Regions from separate parts of the Homo sapiens genome. Here regions 1, 2, 3 and 5 are each linked to region 4. The links are contacts of gene promoters, found by promoter capture Hi-C in blood cells and fetal thymus (Javierre and others, 2016). All regions are on one chromosome and are shown on one strand. Each heading gives the region's core, a stretch centred on a gene start or on the middle of the fragment in contact. The rest is flanking DNA. Distances are from core to core; before and after follow the strand shown. Region 1 holds the start of HSP90AA1 (heat shock protein 90 alpha family class A member 1). Region 2 has its middle 7.6 kb from the start of DYNC1H1. Region 3 overlaps DYNC1H1 (dynein cytoplasmic 1 heavy chain 1). Region 4 holds the start of SETD3 (SET domain containing 3, actin N3(tau)-histidine methyltransferase). Region 5 has its middle 17 kb from the start of LINC00618.

Region 1 (2,928 bases), core at 309-2,808, 2.6 Mb after region 4:
AGCCGCCCCCAGTCCCGGTCCCCAGTCCACCTCCACAGGCCCCCACAACCACCCGTCACCTTGGCTAAGTGACCGCACAGGACCAACGGCACAGCCACACCGGGACGCTGAAGCAACTGACGCGCCACCCCCGCGCCTGCCTTATATAGCGACGGGCCCGCCCAGCGCGCGGCGCTTTTTCCAGAAGCCTCCCGAACCTTCCGGAAGAACCCTCCCCAGCCGCCGCCGCGGCCGCGCGCCTACGCATGCGCCGTTGCCGCGGCACCCCGCCCCCGCGCCTTCCTGCGGGCGCGCGCAGGCCCTGCTCGTGGCCCGGCCCGGGCAACCTTCCCTCAATCGCCGCCGCGCGCCTCTCGCACGCCCCCGCGCCGGCCTCAATGCGCCTGCGCGGCCCGGAATTCTCGGGAAGGTCCGGGCGCCTTCTGGGGCCGCCCGCGCCCTCCGCCCTGCACCCCCACCTGCCGCGGGCGGGCGGAGGGCACGCCCGGGCGTGGGGGCCTTTGAAGTGAGGTGTAGTTGGTCACCCGGGCTGAGCGGAACGCGGGGCCGGGGTGGGAGGCGCGCCTGGAGGGAGGGTCGTGCGTGGACGGAGAGCGGCCCGGGTCTCACGCGCCCGGGAGACTTCCGGAGCCGTCGTCCTGACTGGCGCCGCGCCCGCTGCCAAAGAATCCAGCCGCAAGCGGCGCCGGGATCGCGGGGCTCTGCCCTCTGGGGGCTGTTAGCCTCAGGCTGCTGCGCACTGGGGAGGCTGTCCCGCGGCCTGCGCGCTCGGGGATTCTCCAGACCCACCGCTGGCTCGGGAGCGCTCCCTACTTTTGGGTTCCCCGAAAGCCATGTGCTTCATACTTAAGGGTCCCTTAGCTTGGGAATCGGGGACTTGGTGAACAAATTCATGCTTACCCAGCTACACCCGGCATGATTTTGAAAAGCCCATCGTTTTGCCGACCGATTTGCGGTCTCCAAATTAAGTATCTAACACTTTGGTGATTAACTTGCCCTAAAAGGTTTTTTTTTTTTTTTTTTTCTTTTTTTTTTTTTTGGACAGGCTCTCGCTTTGTCGCCCAGGCTGGGGTGCCGCGGCGGAATCTCGGCTCACTGCAGCCTCGACCCTCCCGGGCTCAGGTGATCCTCCCGCCTCAGCTTTCCCAGTAGCTGGGACGAGCGTGGGCAGAGGACCACAGGCGCGGACACCACACCTGTCTAGTTTTTGTATTTATTTGTAGAGTCGGGGTTTCACCATGTTGCCCAGGCTGGAAAAGCCAGTTTCTACATGGGAATTTTCGGATATTTTGGCCAAGGCCAGCTGTGGGAACCTTGGAGGCATTGGGGTTCCTTCGACCTGGCTTCCCTGCCTAGTCCATGTCCTCTTCCTCTTTGTCTCTGGCGCCTCCCATGATTGGGCCGCCTCCTGCCTAGACTCATAGCCAGGCCCTCGGAATAATCTGAAAGCTCCTTGCCGTGTAAAGAAACGATGGAACTACCTCCGCTTCCTGGTCTTTAGGGAAACGCAACTTGCTCAGGAGCAGGGGTTTTCAGACTGCGGCCTGGGACCCCCTTAAGAGCGTGTGAAATCAACATAAAGCGTCTTGCCTGGCATTACAAAGCGGGGGAAGTGGAAGGAAACTAGCAGCCACGTGGCGCGGGCCCCAGCGGTGGTGACCGGGTGTGTGCCTGGTCCTGTGGTAGCTGTTGCGCAGCCTGGGGGCGCGCCCCCGGCCCAGGCTTTCCTACAGCTGCAGCCTGGACTGGCGGGGAGGAATCCGGAAGCAGGAAGAGCGGTGAGCGGGTCGCTGAAGGGGCGCAAGGTCTTCCCTGGCGACTGCCGCCTTTGCCTGTTTCCTTCCTGTCACCACCAGCCACTGTCCCCGCTCTCCTCACTTGTAGGAACTTTTCCTACCGCAGTTTCTGCCATTGCCCAGGGGGTTTGAGATATAGAGGAGCCATCCAGGGCCCTAACTCTGACGTTCTTTTTTTTCTTTTCTTTTTTTTTTTTTTTTAGACAAAGTCTCACTCTTGGTCCCCCAGGCTCGAGGGCAATGGCACAATCTCTGCTCACTGCAACCTGCTCACTGCAACCTCTACCTCCTGGGTTCAAGCGATTCTCCTGCCTTAGCCTCCCGAGTAGCTGGGATTACAGGCACCCACCACTACGCCCGGCTAATTTTTGTATTTTTAGTAGAGACGGGGTTTCACCATGTTGGCCAGGCTGGTCTCGAACCCGTGACCTCAGGTGATCCGCCCGCCTCGGCCTCCCAAAGTGCTGGGATTACAGGCGTGAGCCACGGCGCCCGGCCAGCTCTGACATTCTTTGTCCTTTGTTTTGGGGACCTTCATTTACCCCCATTTCTCCAGTGAACCTGCTCCAAAGCCCCTCCCTGGGTCTGGGCATCACTGGGAACCACTGTTTCCCGTCAGGCCCCATCTTTAATGTCCCTTCTTCCTTCCACAACTTCTTGTCTTTCCAGCTCTCCCCCCTCGGTTAATAAACAGGACATTTTTGTCCTGTCTCCAGGTGACATTCCACAGTTACCCACCAGGTGCGAACTCTGTAATGGTTTCTACCATCAACACGCCAGCCCCTGGCTGTTCCTTCTCTCTTCTCAGACTCATGCCCCTCTCCCTGGCACATCACGGAGCTCTTGGAGGTGGGTCTTTGCCCCCAGGAAATCTTGTCCAGCACTCTCACTAATAGAACTTGTGTGCAGATGACTCACGGAAGAGCCCGGCCAGGACTCAGCTCCAGACCTGGATGCTGAGCCTCATGAGCTTCCCCCCTGTCTCCAGCCCTCTTTGAGGGCTCGTTAGCCAGGTCACTGACTATCCCACCTTAAAGAACCCCAAGCATCCCCACAACGGATCTGGCACTGAGTCCTGCCACTTCTGCCTCCTAAGTACCTCTTGAACCCAGCCACTTCCCTCCACCTTCAT
Region 2 (3,132 bases), core at 437-2,936, 2.5 Mb after region 4:
AAGACCAAGACTTGGCCGGACCTGACGGTTGTTCTAGGTTGTTCTAGGCGAGTGACCTAGGTCATTCTAGGGTGTCCAGTCTTTTGGCCTCCCTGGGCCACGTGGGAAGAATAAGAATCGTCTTGGGGCACATAAAATACACTAAAGACAGCTAATGAGCGGGGAAACACAAAATCACAAAAAATAAAATTAAATAAAAGCTTTAAGAAAGTTTACAATTTGTGTTGGGCCGCATGCGAGCCGCGAGTTAGACAAGCTTGCTCTAGGTGGTTCCAGGCCTTCCTGCGTGCCCAGCTGGCGAGGCGGATGGAGGAGATTCTGCTGCTGCCTCTCCAGCAGTCCTGGGAGGAAAGGTCTCATGGAATTAAAGGAAACAGCTACGTTAATATCTGCCAGCGCCCGCTCGGAGCCGGGCCCAGCCCCACGTGCCAGGACAGCGGGCAGCTGCGGGCGCTGTGCGCTGGTGGGGACCTGAAAGCGTCCGGATGCGCTGGCCCCGCTGCTGCTGCGCGGGCGTCCCGGGCGGGCCCTTGGCAACCGGCTTTCTGCACTGGACGCTGCCGCCCAGAGAGCTGCTCATCGACGTTTGGGAGAGAGGGAGGGAATGTTTTAGGATTCCCAGCCCTTCGGCACGGGGAAAATGGAAGGAGAGGACCCGGCCCATGCCCCTTGGTGGCTCAAAGGCTCTAGACACGGTCGGCCTCCGGGTTTGAACCCCTCCTCCGCCTCCTGTTATCTCTGAGACTTCAGCAAGCTACTGCCCTTTCCAAACCTGTTCCTGACCTTCGCATTGCAGAGTTAATCCATCTGGTGGATCTGGGGATGCTGGAGGAAGCCGTTAGAAGCCCCCGGCGCGTGGTGAGGACGCAGCCGGAGACGCAGGCCTCTCCCTCCAGCAGTGGGGCGTGCCCACAAGTCCCCCCTCTCCAGTGTATGCAACAGCCTAGTGTCTGACCAGGCTCCCATTCCACGACTCCGCAATTCCACGGCCAGCACATCCCAGGATTCAGTTTCAGGGTTCTACCCCTTCCTGAGTCAGCTAAAGCGCAGCAGGGACATGCTCTGTCCGGGGAGAACGTGCTGGCCCAGGTCATCTGTCATCTGTCACACCAGTATCGACGCAAGAAAAGCATCAAGACTTTTTTTTGTCTTTCTTTTTTTGAGACAGCGTCTCACTCTGTCGCCTGGGCTGGTGTGGTGTGATCAGGGTTCACTGCAGCCTCGACCTCCCGGTGCCCAAGCGATCCTCCCAGCTCAGCCTCCCAAGTGGCTGGGACCACAGGCCCATACCACCATGCCCAGCTTATTTTTCGTAGAGATGGGGTTTCACTTTGTTGCTCCGGCTGGTCTCCAGCTCCTGGTCTCAAGGGACCTTCCCTCCTCAGCCTCCCTAAGTGCTAGGATTACAGGCATGAGCCACCGTGCCTGGTCCCTGCCCAAGCATTTAAGCAAATTTAATTTTATTCAGAAGCCTTACTGAAGCCTGGAGGCTGAAGAATACAGGCCAGAAGTCTTTGAGAGAGGTACTGTCAGAGTGCTCCAGAACAGCATTTCAGATCGCTTATATCCAGGTAGTGGAGGTTTAGTGCATGCAAAATCACATCAAAGTCTGGGTACAAGAGTACATCTGGTTGTAGGCCAGGCATGGTGGCTCATGCCTGTAATCCCAGCACTTTGAGAGGTTGAGGTGGGCAGATCACAAGGTCAGGAGTTTGAGACCAGCCTGGCCAACATGGTGAAACCCTGTCTCTACTAAACATACAAAAAGTAGGCTGGGCGCTGTGGCTCACGCCTGTAATCCCAGCACTTTGGGAGGCCGAGGTAGGCAGATCATAAGGTCAGGAGTTTGAGACCAGCCTGGCCAACATGGTAAAACCCCGTCTCCACTAAAAATATAAAAGTTAGCCGGGAGTGGTGGCGGGTGCCTGTAATCCCAGCTACTTGGGAGGCTGAGGCAGGAGAATCACTTGAAACCCAGAAGGTGGAGGCAGCAGTGAGCTGAGATCGCACCACTGCACTCTAGCCTGGGCAAAAGAGCGAAACTCCGTCTAAAAAAAAAATACAAAAATTAGCTGGGTGTGGTGGCTCATGCCTATAGTCCTAGCTACTCGGGAGGCTGAGGCAGGAGGATCGCTTGAACCCGGAGGTGAAAGTTGCAGTGAGCTGAGATTGTGCCACTGCACTCCAGCCTGAGTGACAGAGTGAGACTCCATCTCAAAAAAAAAAAAAAAAGAGAGAGAGTACATCTGGTTATAGATTGTAGATTTATAACCACATCAGGTTATAATCAGCACTAACCCCGTCATATGTTATCTTATGTACAGGAAAAGGCAAGGCTACGGCCATTTATCTTTTAAGGAACATATTGACTCCAGCAAGACACGTGGGCTGTGTGCTCTGTCCTGTTTTGTCTTCAGAGCATCTTTCCAGAGAGCTACACGTGGTCACAGAGGCAGGGCTTTGTGAAATTACATTGACAAGCAGAACTGAGCACACATGGCTTCTTACGCTTGCTACTTTGCCTCACACCGGTTACCCTGGCCCTCTGGTCCCACACTTCTCCTGGCCTCAATGGGTAGGAGGGCCTCTTTGGCCAGCCTGCCTGGGGTCTTGTCACCTGGGTGCCAGCTCCCACTTCCCCAGCATTGCTCTCTAGGGGCCGGTGGGCAGCAGGACCCCCTCACCTGCCTCTCCTCACCCCAGCCTGGAGAGTCTTCTTGTGGCTCTGTCACCTCCTGCTTCCCCAGCATGCTTTGCCTACATGGGAGATTCTAACTTTCCCCTTTCTCCCCCATATGCCCTTTTACTCTCAAGGGCTAGGACTTTTGGGAAAAAAAAAAAAAAAAAAAAAAAAAAAAGCCTGAAAGACCAATAGGCACCTTCTGCTTTCAGTCCTAGAACCACAGACCAAGCTAGGCTCCTGCACGAATGGGGAGGCAGAATGTGAAATGGAGGGAGAAAATCAGTCAATATAGGCAGTTCCAGCTTTGCATGGGTCCAATCTATATGGACAAGATTTCCTTACCACGGTTTAGTTCAATAACACCAGTTTCCCAGCCACACGGTTCAAGTACCAGTTACCATCGTAAATTACCTGTGAGTAATTGAATAAAGTACAAGCTTTGCTGCCAG
Region 3 (2,920 bases), core at 235-2,734, 2.5 Mb after region 4:
GTGTCAGTATAGCTTGCAGGGAAGGAACTCATGAAGCAGGCCCAGTACTTTGATTCTTTGAATGCATGGACATATAGTACAGTATTGGTCTGTTACATTTTAACAGTAACTTTGTATTAACTAGTAACTTTGCCAAGCATAAGGAAATGGATTCAAATTTTACTGAAAGTGGTATTACTTAATCAAACGTGCAGATTGTGTTTGTAGTAAGCTTATAAATATAACAGGGCTAATAGCCTCTTTGTTATTAAGAATTAATAATCAAGTGTCCTTCCTCCTCTGGACAACTATTTAAAAAAAAAAAAAAGAAAGAAAAGTAGAATGTCAGATTATTATTTGATGGCAGTTTTTGAAACAGTGTCCTAAATTGTGTGACTGTAAATGGGAGTCAGACATACTCAACTGTGTTTGATCCGTGTCTTTATAGGGAATATGCACAGAAAGACTAGTCCAAGATGTTTTCTGTGACTGGTTCGTAGTGACTTCCATAAGTTATTATCAAGAGAAGTTAGAATTTAGCAAAGCAGCAGGGAATATCTATTTGCATTATCGTTGTTTGAGGATTATGTCATTGGGTGTGCCTTCCTGAGCTGAAGCAGCATTCTACTGCATTGCAGTATTCCCAGGGCAGAGCTGGAGCGCTCACCACACAGCGGTGACTCATCTCTTGGAATGGCACCTAGTTCCCCTAACCCGGTTTGCATTAGGAAGTGTAGGCCACATGCTCATATGCTGTGTCCGGACTGCGCAATTTCTGTGTGATTTTATTTGTATCAATGATGACTCTTTATGGGGGGTAGAAATGATTCAGAGTTAACAAGCCATATTTTTAGTTGCGTCAGTGATTTCCTTTGATCATTATAGAATGTTAATTTTATTTTCTGTATATTGTTTCGGTGTTATTTTGATGGCATATTTTATATAAATGGTAGAACAATATGGAAAATTCAGAAAATTGAGGGAGAAAATCATCGCAGTACTTTGACAGCTGTTTCAGTTTGGAGATAGTTCTTTATTCTCTATGCTTACATTTTACAGGTTGTAATCGTGTGTGGCTGCTTTCAGGCAGTGTGATTTCTCTTGTGGTCTAGCTACATTTGAGTGGTTAGAAAAATTGGTTGCTTTCTTTAGTTTTTTTAATAGTCGTTTTAAAAAATAGCAAGTATCTGGCATACTAGAATGTTCTGCCGCCTACTCCTTCCTCTTCCTAAAATTATATCCAAATATACCCAAAACAATAATTTGGAAGAATTATTGTCTCTCGATAGATACACTAATTTTTTTTTTTTTTTTGAGATCAATCTCAGCTCACTGCAACCTCCACCTCCCAGGTTGAAGCAATTCTCTTACCCCAACCTCCCAAATAACTGAAATTACAGGTGCCAACCACCACACCCAGCTAATTTTTTTAATTTTTAGTAGGTATAGGGTTTCACCATGTTGGCCAGGCTGGTATTGAACTCCTGACTTGAAGTGATCTGCCCGCCTCGGCCTCCCAAAGTGCTGAGATTACAGGCATGAGCCACCGCGCCTGGCCAGATAGACTAATATTTTATACTCTTTAGTGTGAATTTTGTATTTGTCTCATCTTAAAACTAAGGAAGCAGGGGTTGGGCGCAATGACTCATGCCTGTAGTGCCAGGCCGAGGCATGAGGATCTCTTGAGCCCCAGGAGTTTGACACCAGCCTGAGCAACATAGAGAGACCCCATCTCTAAAAAATGTTTTAAAAATCCACTGAAGGTGGTGGCATGAGCGTGGGGTCCCAGCTCTTTGGGAGGCTGAGGCAGGAGGATCTCTTGAACCCAGAAGATCAAGACTACAGTGAGGTGTGATGAAGCCACTGCGTTCCAGCCTGGGCGGCAGAGCAAGACATTGTCTCTAAATAAATAAATTAATTAATTAAAATAAAATGCTTACAGAAGGAGCAAGATTTTTAAAACAATAGCTAAGGAAGCAAATAGCTTTTGCTCAGACCCTGTGTATCCAGGTTTCATAGTTTTTAGTGCTTAATGAAACCTTATAACCACCTAACTCAATATTCTACTGCCTGCTCCACCACCCATTTTACACCTTACAAATTTGAAGCCCAGAGAAAGAAAAATGACTTTCTCAAGGTCACATATCTTCTAAGCAATAGAACTTGAACTGTTGAAACTACTGCCCTTTCCTTTATTTATTTATTTATTTTTTTTGAGATGGAGTTTCACTCTTGTTGCCCAGGCTGGAGTGCAATGGCGTGATCTCAACTCACCACAACCTCCGCCTCCTGGGTTCAAGCGATTCGCCTGCCTCAGCTTCCCGAGTAGCTGGAATTACAGGCATGCGCCACCATGCCTGGCTAATTTTGTATTTTTAGCAGAGACGGGGTTTCTCCTTGTTTGTCAGGCTGGTCTCGAACTCTCTACCTCAGGTGATCCACCTGCCTTGGCCTCCCAAAGTGCTGGGATTGCAGGCATGCGCCATCACGCCCAGCCTTCCCTTTCTATTACATCATGACTTTTAAAAGGTGAACTATGTATAAAATAATCATGTTAAATTAATCCATAGATTGTAATTTTTGCCAACATATATTTCATACAGTACGTTATTGCAAAGATAATTTGACTAGAATGTTTAGGCATTGCATGGATTAGTACTAGATGTAGAGGTTTAGATTATTTTCTATTCTTATACTTTTTTTAGTTCTTCAATCTTGATTTTTAATTTAGAAATTTGGTTCACATGCTTCTTGAGGCTACCTTACTATTAATTTCCAGTAAGCTTTTTTAAACTTAAATTTTATTATTAAAAAATTGAGACATGGTTTCACCATGTTGCCCAGACTAGTCTCATACTCCTGAGCTGAAGTGGTCCACACCTCAGCCTCCCAAAGTGCTGGGATTACTGACGTAAGCCACCAGCCCGGCCTCCGTAAGCTT
Region 4 (2,919 bases), core at 212-2,711:
TGGTAGCCCGTATAAACACAGTACATACAGCAAGGTTCAAGCAAGTCTTGGCAAATTTTAACAGTGGAGAGGAAGACTGCTTTATTTTGCTATATTCTTGGGTTAAATGTATTCGCTTAAAATAATAAACACTTCTCCGAGATTATTACTGGTTAGTTCAGTTTTGAAATACTGGCAAGGTCATTTCAAGAAGAAAAACGGGAGAGGGAGAGGTATATTTTACATAAGATAAAATTCACACTTTTCAGTGTCCGGTTCTGAGTTCTGACAAACGCATTTATAGTGGCCTCATCAGCACCACAATCAGGCTACGAAGATGGGGTAACTCTTCGAGGATTCTTAAAAGCAAAATTGATTTGTCAGCATACTTTAAAAGTATTTTTGCTTTTGAAACATCACCTTATTTATTTAGAAAAGCAAAATAACACGGTCCGAGTGGTCCTAACCCGCGAATGCCTTTGCAACACTGAAATGCCCTCCTCCCAACACCGGCCGGGCAGGGGTGAGCCCCGCAGCCAGGGGCGCGCGTCACTGTCAGCTCCTTTTCCCAAGTGGAGACCGGGAAAAGACAAGAGTTGCATCGCCGGGCTGGAGCCACGAGGAGGAAGAGTTAACGCCGGAATGACAAACTCTAAAGCACCGAATTGCCTCTCCCTAGTAGGGCACTGCGCGTGTGGAGCACGGCCAGGGGCGCGTGGGAAGAAAGACGACCTATTTCCTACGTCCGTCTTCCTAACTGGACGGCGCGGGAGGAGGCGGGGGCTGGTCCCCGGGCACCCTGGTGGGCACCGAGAACTCGCAGAGAGGAACATAAAACCGCACAGCCTTCCCCGAGCAGCGGGGTGACGGGAGGAAGGAAGGAAATGGGAGCGCGACCCGGCCGCGCGCAGAGCCGAGCCGACTAGCGCGAGGGGCCCGGGCCCCACCCGAGAGCAGGCGCGAGGGCCGGGGACAGCGGGGCAAGCTCGGGGAGAGCGCTGCCTGCACCTGGCACCACCTCGAGACCGGGTGGCGCGGGGCCCGGGAGCGTGGGCGCCAGAGGGGACAGGGCAGCGGCGAGCGCGCGCCTCTCGCCCCGCAGGGCGCCCGGGCAGAGGCCGACCGGCGCCCTCCGACCCCGCCGGGCCCTCCTCGCCCTGGCCCCCGAGCGCACACCTGCCCCTTCAAGCCCCGGGGCCACAGCGGCCGGCGGGGACCCTGGCGGGGGCGCGGGCCGGACTTCGGCCGAGGGGCGCTGGCCAGGGCGAGGGACGGCCTCGCAGAGCTCGGAGACGCGGCGCGAGTTTCCCCCGCGGGCCGCGCGGGCGCAGAGACCGCCGCCAGCACTCACCTGCCCGCTTCCCCTAGCGCAGCGGGAACGACGTACTCCGGCCCGGACCCCGCCGTCCGCCTCAACCAACCCCCAGGCGGTGGCGGCGGTGGCGGCGGCGGCGGCCGGACGGGAGGGGCGGGACGGCAGCCTGAGACGGCCCCGCGACCGCGGCCCAACGCTTCTCCTCCCGCCCCGGACCCCGCCCCCGGGCCGCAGCCGCCGCCGTTCATTGGCCCACGCTTCGGACGCATGGGCGCGGCCCCGCCCCGCCACCCAGCCGGCGTTCCGTTCGGGGTCCTCCCCAGCCAGTGGGCTGGCAGCTCCCGGGGGCAAGAGCGGCCGGCTCAGCCGCCGCCAACCACGATGTCGCAACTGGCTGCGTTCGCCCCCGCCAGAGCTTTGATTGGACGAATCTCGACCCGGGCCCCGCCTACGCGCCCAAGTTCCGTTAGCAGGTTCGGTTGCTCCAGAATGCCTTTTCGCCCCGAGGGGCGGGACCGACGGGATGGGCCCTGTGGCTGGCTCCTCCCTCTGTAAGCAGCAGCCACTGACCCGCGGGGCGGGCGGGGAGGAGAGCGGCGGCTCGTTCCTCTTTTGAGAGCTCTGCTTTCTTCCCATTGGTTGACAGGCATCCTACTCTCTCCGCCCCTCCGGTCGCTTGGTGGCGTCTCAGGACGCAGCGTGATGACGTAGGTCCCCGACATTCCATATACAAGATGGCCGCAGTCGGCAAGGAGAGACGTCGCTGAGGGGCTTGCCTGAAGCGAGGGGTGAGTGACCCACCGACTGAGGGCAGCGCCGCCCACCTCCCGCGTATCTGGAGGTCGGAGTAGGTTATGGCCAACCGCCGCTATCCACTGGCGGAGTCTCTCTTTCCGGATTCTGCCTCCCTCCGCTAACCTCCGGTACACATTGAACTTTGCGGGCGACGCGGGGTTGTGGGGCGGGCGTGTAGAGAGGGTCTGAGGCGCCGGGGCGGGGCAGGGAGGCCGGACTCACCCTAGAACTGGTAGCGGCCCTCGCACTGGGGGGCAGTCAGAGTTGGGGAACTTTCTAGGGGTTGGGCAAAAGGGGCAGCGGTGTTAACCGCGCACAGTCTCACAGCCACAGACTTCTCATATCTCCCCGATTATTTCGCGGCGTATTAGTCCCAACCTTGGCTAGGCCTGAAACTTTTTGGAGGTTGTTCCATGTCTAGGGTACTCCGACTTTGGAGTTTTGGAGAGCCACGTAACGAGGGTGCGGCTAAGATGAGGAAAAGGCACTTCCGGGATTAGATTTCGTTCTTGCCCAGACATCGTCTTTACGGACCCGCTCCTGGTGGTTGATTTGGTTTGTTATGAGAGAAATTGTTCTTTAGAAAATTGGAGCGTAAGTCTAGAGGTTATGTGACAGCTCCTAAACGATTGTCTGCCCAAGATAGGCTCGGTAATGCTCCCTAAATTTAGACTGCCAGTTAAACGGAGCTTTCGCTAAGTCATCTGAGGTTAGGAACTATTTCTAAGAGCATTTCTTAAGGGTGGTCTTCTGTGTTTTTAAGAGAAACTTGGTGATGTTTGTGTATCTCGATCTAAATCGCTGTTTACAGATACCTAGCACAATGCCTT
Region 5 (2,769 bases), core at 162-2,661, 2.5 Mb before region 4:
AGCTCTGCCACTCACCTGTCGAGAGCCTTGGTGAGTTGCTCAACATCTCTGTGCCTCAGTTTCCTCAGCTTTAAAATAGATGCAATGCTAGGCCTGTTGCTGTGGTTGCTATGGACACTGAATGAGACAACATGTTGATGCGCTTATACGCTTAAACATACAGGAAACGTTAACCTCTCACTATGATACCCAGCACCGCTGAAGGCGGCAGCTAGAGAGGATGGAGCCTGGACTTTGGAGACGGGTCCTGGCATTGCACAAATTGCACATCCTCTCTGGATCTCAGTTTCCTCACCTGCAAAACAGGTGTGAGAATCTCTACCTGGAGTTACTTCGTCATTCAGCACATGTGTGGGGGCTTGTGATGGGCTAGCCCATGTTGGGTGTCAGGGATTCCACAACAAACCCATCCCTGTTCCTAAGAAGCTTGGAGGCAAGCTCAGAGGTACTTAATCTGGGGTCTGTGGGTCCCAAGGCTGTCCACAGTAGGCTTCAGGGGGCTCTACAAACCCCCCAGGCATGTAAGAAATAGGTCTGGGGCTTTCACTGGATCTTTGAGAGGCCCTGGGCAGAGAGGAGAGCTGTGTCAAATTCTGGATCTTGGTGCTTGGGGGAGCCTAGCCTTTACACCTGCCTGTGCTGGAAGGCCGGGCTGCTCACCTTCTCCAACCCAGGGCTGGTATCAGGCTGCTGGACCAGCCTTGCCCAGTGCCATGGTTCCCCATCAGGGCCCTTGGGGATCCAGTCCTGAGTGCAGGGTAGAAGCGGGCATGGGCCTCTGTGCAGGTGAGTCCACATTTCCCTGGATTCAGCCCACACAGCCTGCCCTCCTCACCACAGCCTCAGAAAGAGCTTGGGGGAAAAACACATTCCTAAATAAATATGGGCAGAAAAAATAATACAGAAAGTTCTTGCCTTGTCCAGGACTTTTGACAGGACTGGTCTGCCTGGCTCTGGGCTCTCTCTGTCTCTCCCAATTACTGCCTCTGCCTTCCACATGTTGCCATGGGAGCGCTAAGTCAACTCACCATCAGCAGCTGTTGCTGGAAAGTTCCTAGCATCCATGTTTCAGCCCCTCTCAGTGCTCTGGGGGCATGCAGCTATGAGGACTCAGGTCCTTCCTCTGGAAAATTTCACATCTTCCCACAGCGCAGAGGGGAGGGGTGGAATGGCCAAAGCATGTGGGCTTTGGGGTCAGACTGCAGGGTTCCAATCCTGGTTCTACTTCTGTAGCTCAGCCAGGTCATTTAAACTTGCTAAGCCTCAGTTTCCTCATCTGTAAAATGGGAACAGTGATAGAACTGACCTTGGACAATGCTGAGGCTGGACAGTGGCATGATGCATGTAAAGTGCCTGGTCCATTGTCAGCACTCAATCAACCTGGTTGTTACTATTACCACCACCATTGGGCCTGGGAAGGCAAAGGAGGTGTTTTCCTCTACACAGAGGGTGGTATGTAGGAGAAAGACTGAGACCAGTGCTATGAGATGGAGTGAATCAAGAAGGCTGAGTTCTCACAGGGTGTTTTGGCTGAGTTACTGCCTCCCTGTAGGCCTCAGTTTTTGCATTTGTTTAGCGGGCCACATACTTCATTAGAGGCTTCCTAGGTCTGCTCCTTAGATGCTTAGAGAAGTGTTGATCTGGGAGCACACTGCTGGATTTGCAGTCAGAGGACACTTACTTCAGCTTCAGGGACAGGTTGCTGAGAGAATAGAATCCAGCTTGGCTATGTGAGTTGCATGGCCTCACCCCAACCTGGCAAGGGTCCAGTCCTGCTCTTCTCTGGCCCTTCCCCTCAACAGTCTAGTCCTGCCCTGATGCCCTCCCTCTCAGCACCCATCAGGTGCCTCATCCTCCAATGATTTGCTCCAATTGCAGCTCCTCCTAGAAGCCTTCTGTATCAGCTAGGGCCCAACCAGGAGATGGAGCCATGCCTGTTAGTCCAACAGAGCAAATCTAACATAAAGTAGTGGTCTATTGCATACCCATTAGAATAACTATTACCAGCAAAACAGGAAGTTACAAATGTTGGCAAGGAAGTGGGGAAATTGGAGCCGTTGTACCTTGCTGGTAGGAATGTAAAATGGTGCAGCCTCTGTGGAAGATATTATGGTGGTTCCTCAAAAAATTAAATATAGAATTAGCTGATGAACCAGCAATTCCATTTCTTGGTATACATCCGAAATAATTGAAGGCAGGGTGTTAAAGCAATATTTGCACACCCATGTTCATAGCAGCATTATTCAAAACAGGCAAAAGGTGGAATCAACCCAAGGGTCCATCAATGGATGAATGGACAAAGAAAATGTGTTATATACATAGAGTGGGATATTATTCAGAAATATTATTTCTTTCCTTGAAAAGGAAGGAAATTCTGACACATGCTGTGACATGAATGAAGCTTGGAGACATACGAGAAAAATAATCTAGACACAAAAGGACAGATACTGTATGATTCCTTATATGAGGTTCCTAGAGCAGCCAAACTTGTAGAGACAGAAAGTAGAACAGTGATTGCCAGGGTAGGGGAGAGGGAATACAGAGTTGTTGTTTAATGGGTACAGAGTTTCAGTTTTGCAAGATGAAAAAGTTCTGAAGATTGGCCGGGCATGGTGGCTCATGCCTGTAATCCCAGCACGTTGGGAGGCCGAGGCAGGTGGATCACTGTAGGTCAGGAGTTTGAGACCAGCCTAGCCATGATGGTGAAACCCCAACTCTACTAAAAATACAAAAAATTAGCCGGGCATGGTAGTACACATCTGTAGTCCG

Evidence for each region. Contacts are between HindIII fragments. The CHiCAGO score rates a contact against its expected background, and 5 or more counts as called.
Region 1: a fragment that was not itself captured here is called in contact with the fragment with the promoter of SETD3 in region 4 in 1 of 17 cell types (neutrophils); the score reaches 11.8 in neutrophils.
Region 2: a contact is called between a fragment that was not itself captured here and the fragment with the promoter of SETD3 in region 4, in 1 of 17 cell types (neutrophils). The highest score is 6.5, in neutrophils.
Region 3: a fragment that was not itself captured here is called in contact with the fragment with the promoter of SETD3 in region 4 in 1 of 17 cell types (neutrophils); the score reaches 6.5 in neutrophils.
Region 5: a fragment that was not itself captured here is called in contact with the fragment with the promoter of SETD3 in region 4 in 1 of 17 cell types (naive CD4 T cells); the score reaches 5.8 in naive CD4 T cells.

The regions. Positions count from the first base shown.
Region 1 is chr14:102,086,927-102,089,854 of GRCh38, forward strand. It overlaps HSP90AA1 (heat shock protein 90 alpha family class A member 1), which reads right to left and starts at 118. Exons shown (of 11, transcript NM_005348.4): 1 at 60-118. RefSeq lists silencers at 36-565, 626-675. The HindIII fragment of the contact is 4,777 bases long and covers 1-2,928 here.
Region 2 is chr14:101,955,435-101,958,566 of GRCh38, forward strand. No RefSeq gene overlaps it. Among named protein-coding and RNA genes, the nearest start is that of DYNC1H1, 7.6 kb to the right of the region's middle. The HindIII fragment of the contact is 2,864 bases long and covers 255-3,118 here.
Region 3 is chr14:101,971,923-101,974,842 of GRCh38, forward strand. The region is part of intron 1 of DYNC1H1 (dynein cytoplasmic 1 heavy chain 1); the gene reads left to right. Among named protein-coding and RNA genes, the nearest start is that of DYNC1H1, 8.8 kb to the left of the region's middle. The HindIII fragment of the contact is 2,551 bases long and covers 210-2,760 here.
Region 4 is chr14:99,479,398-99,482,316 of GRCh38, forward strand. SETD3 (SET domain containing 3, actin N3(tau)-histidine methyltransferase) reads right to left here and starts at 1,462. Exons shown (of 13, transcript NM_032233.3): 1 at 1,331-1,462. CCNK (cyclin K) reads left to right here and starts at 2,012. Exons shown (of 11, transcript NM_001099402.2): 1 at 2,012-2,082. RefSeq lists enhancers at 593-1,094, 1,903-2,272 and silencers at 943-1,142, 1,253-1,712. The HindIII fragment of the contact is 7,554 bases long and covers 1-2,919 here.
Region 5 is chr14:96,958,879-96,961,647 of GRCh38, forward strand. No RefSeq gene overlaps it. Among named protein-coding and RNA genes, the nearest start is that of LINC00618, 17 kb to the left of the region's middle. The HindIII fragment of the contact is 1,975 bases long and covers 425-2,399 here.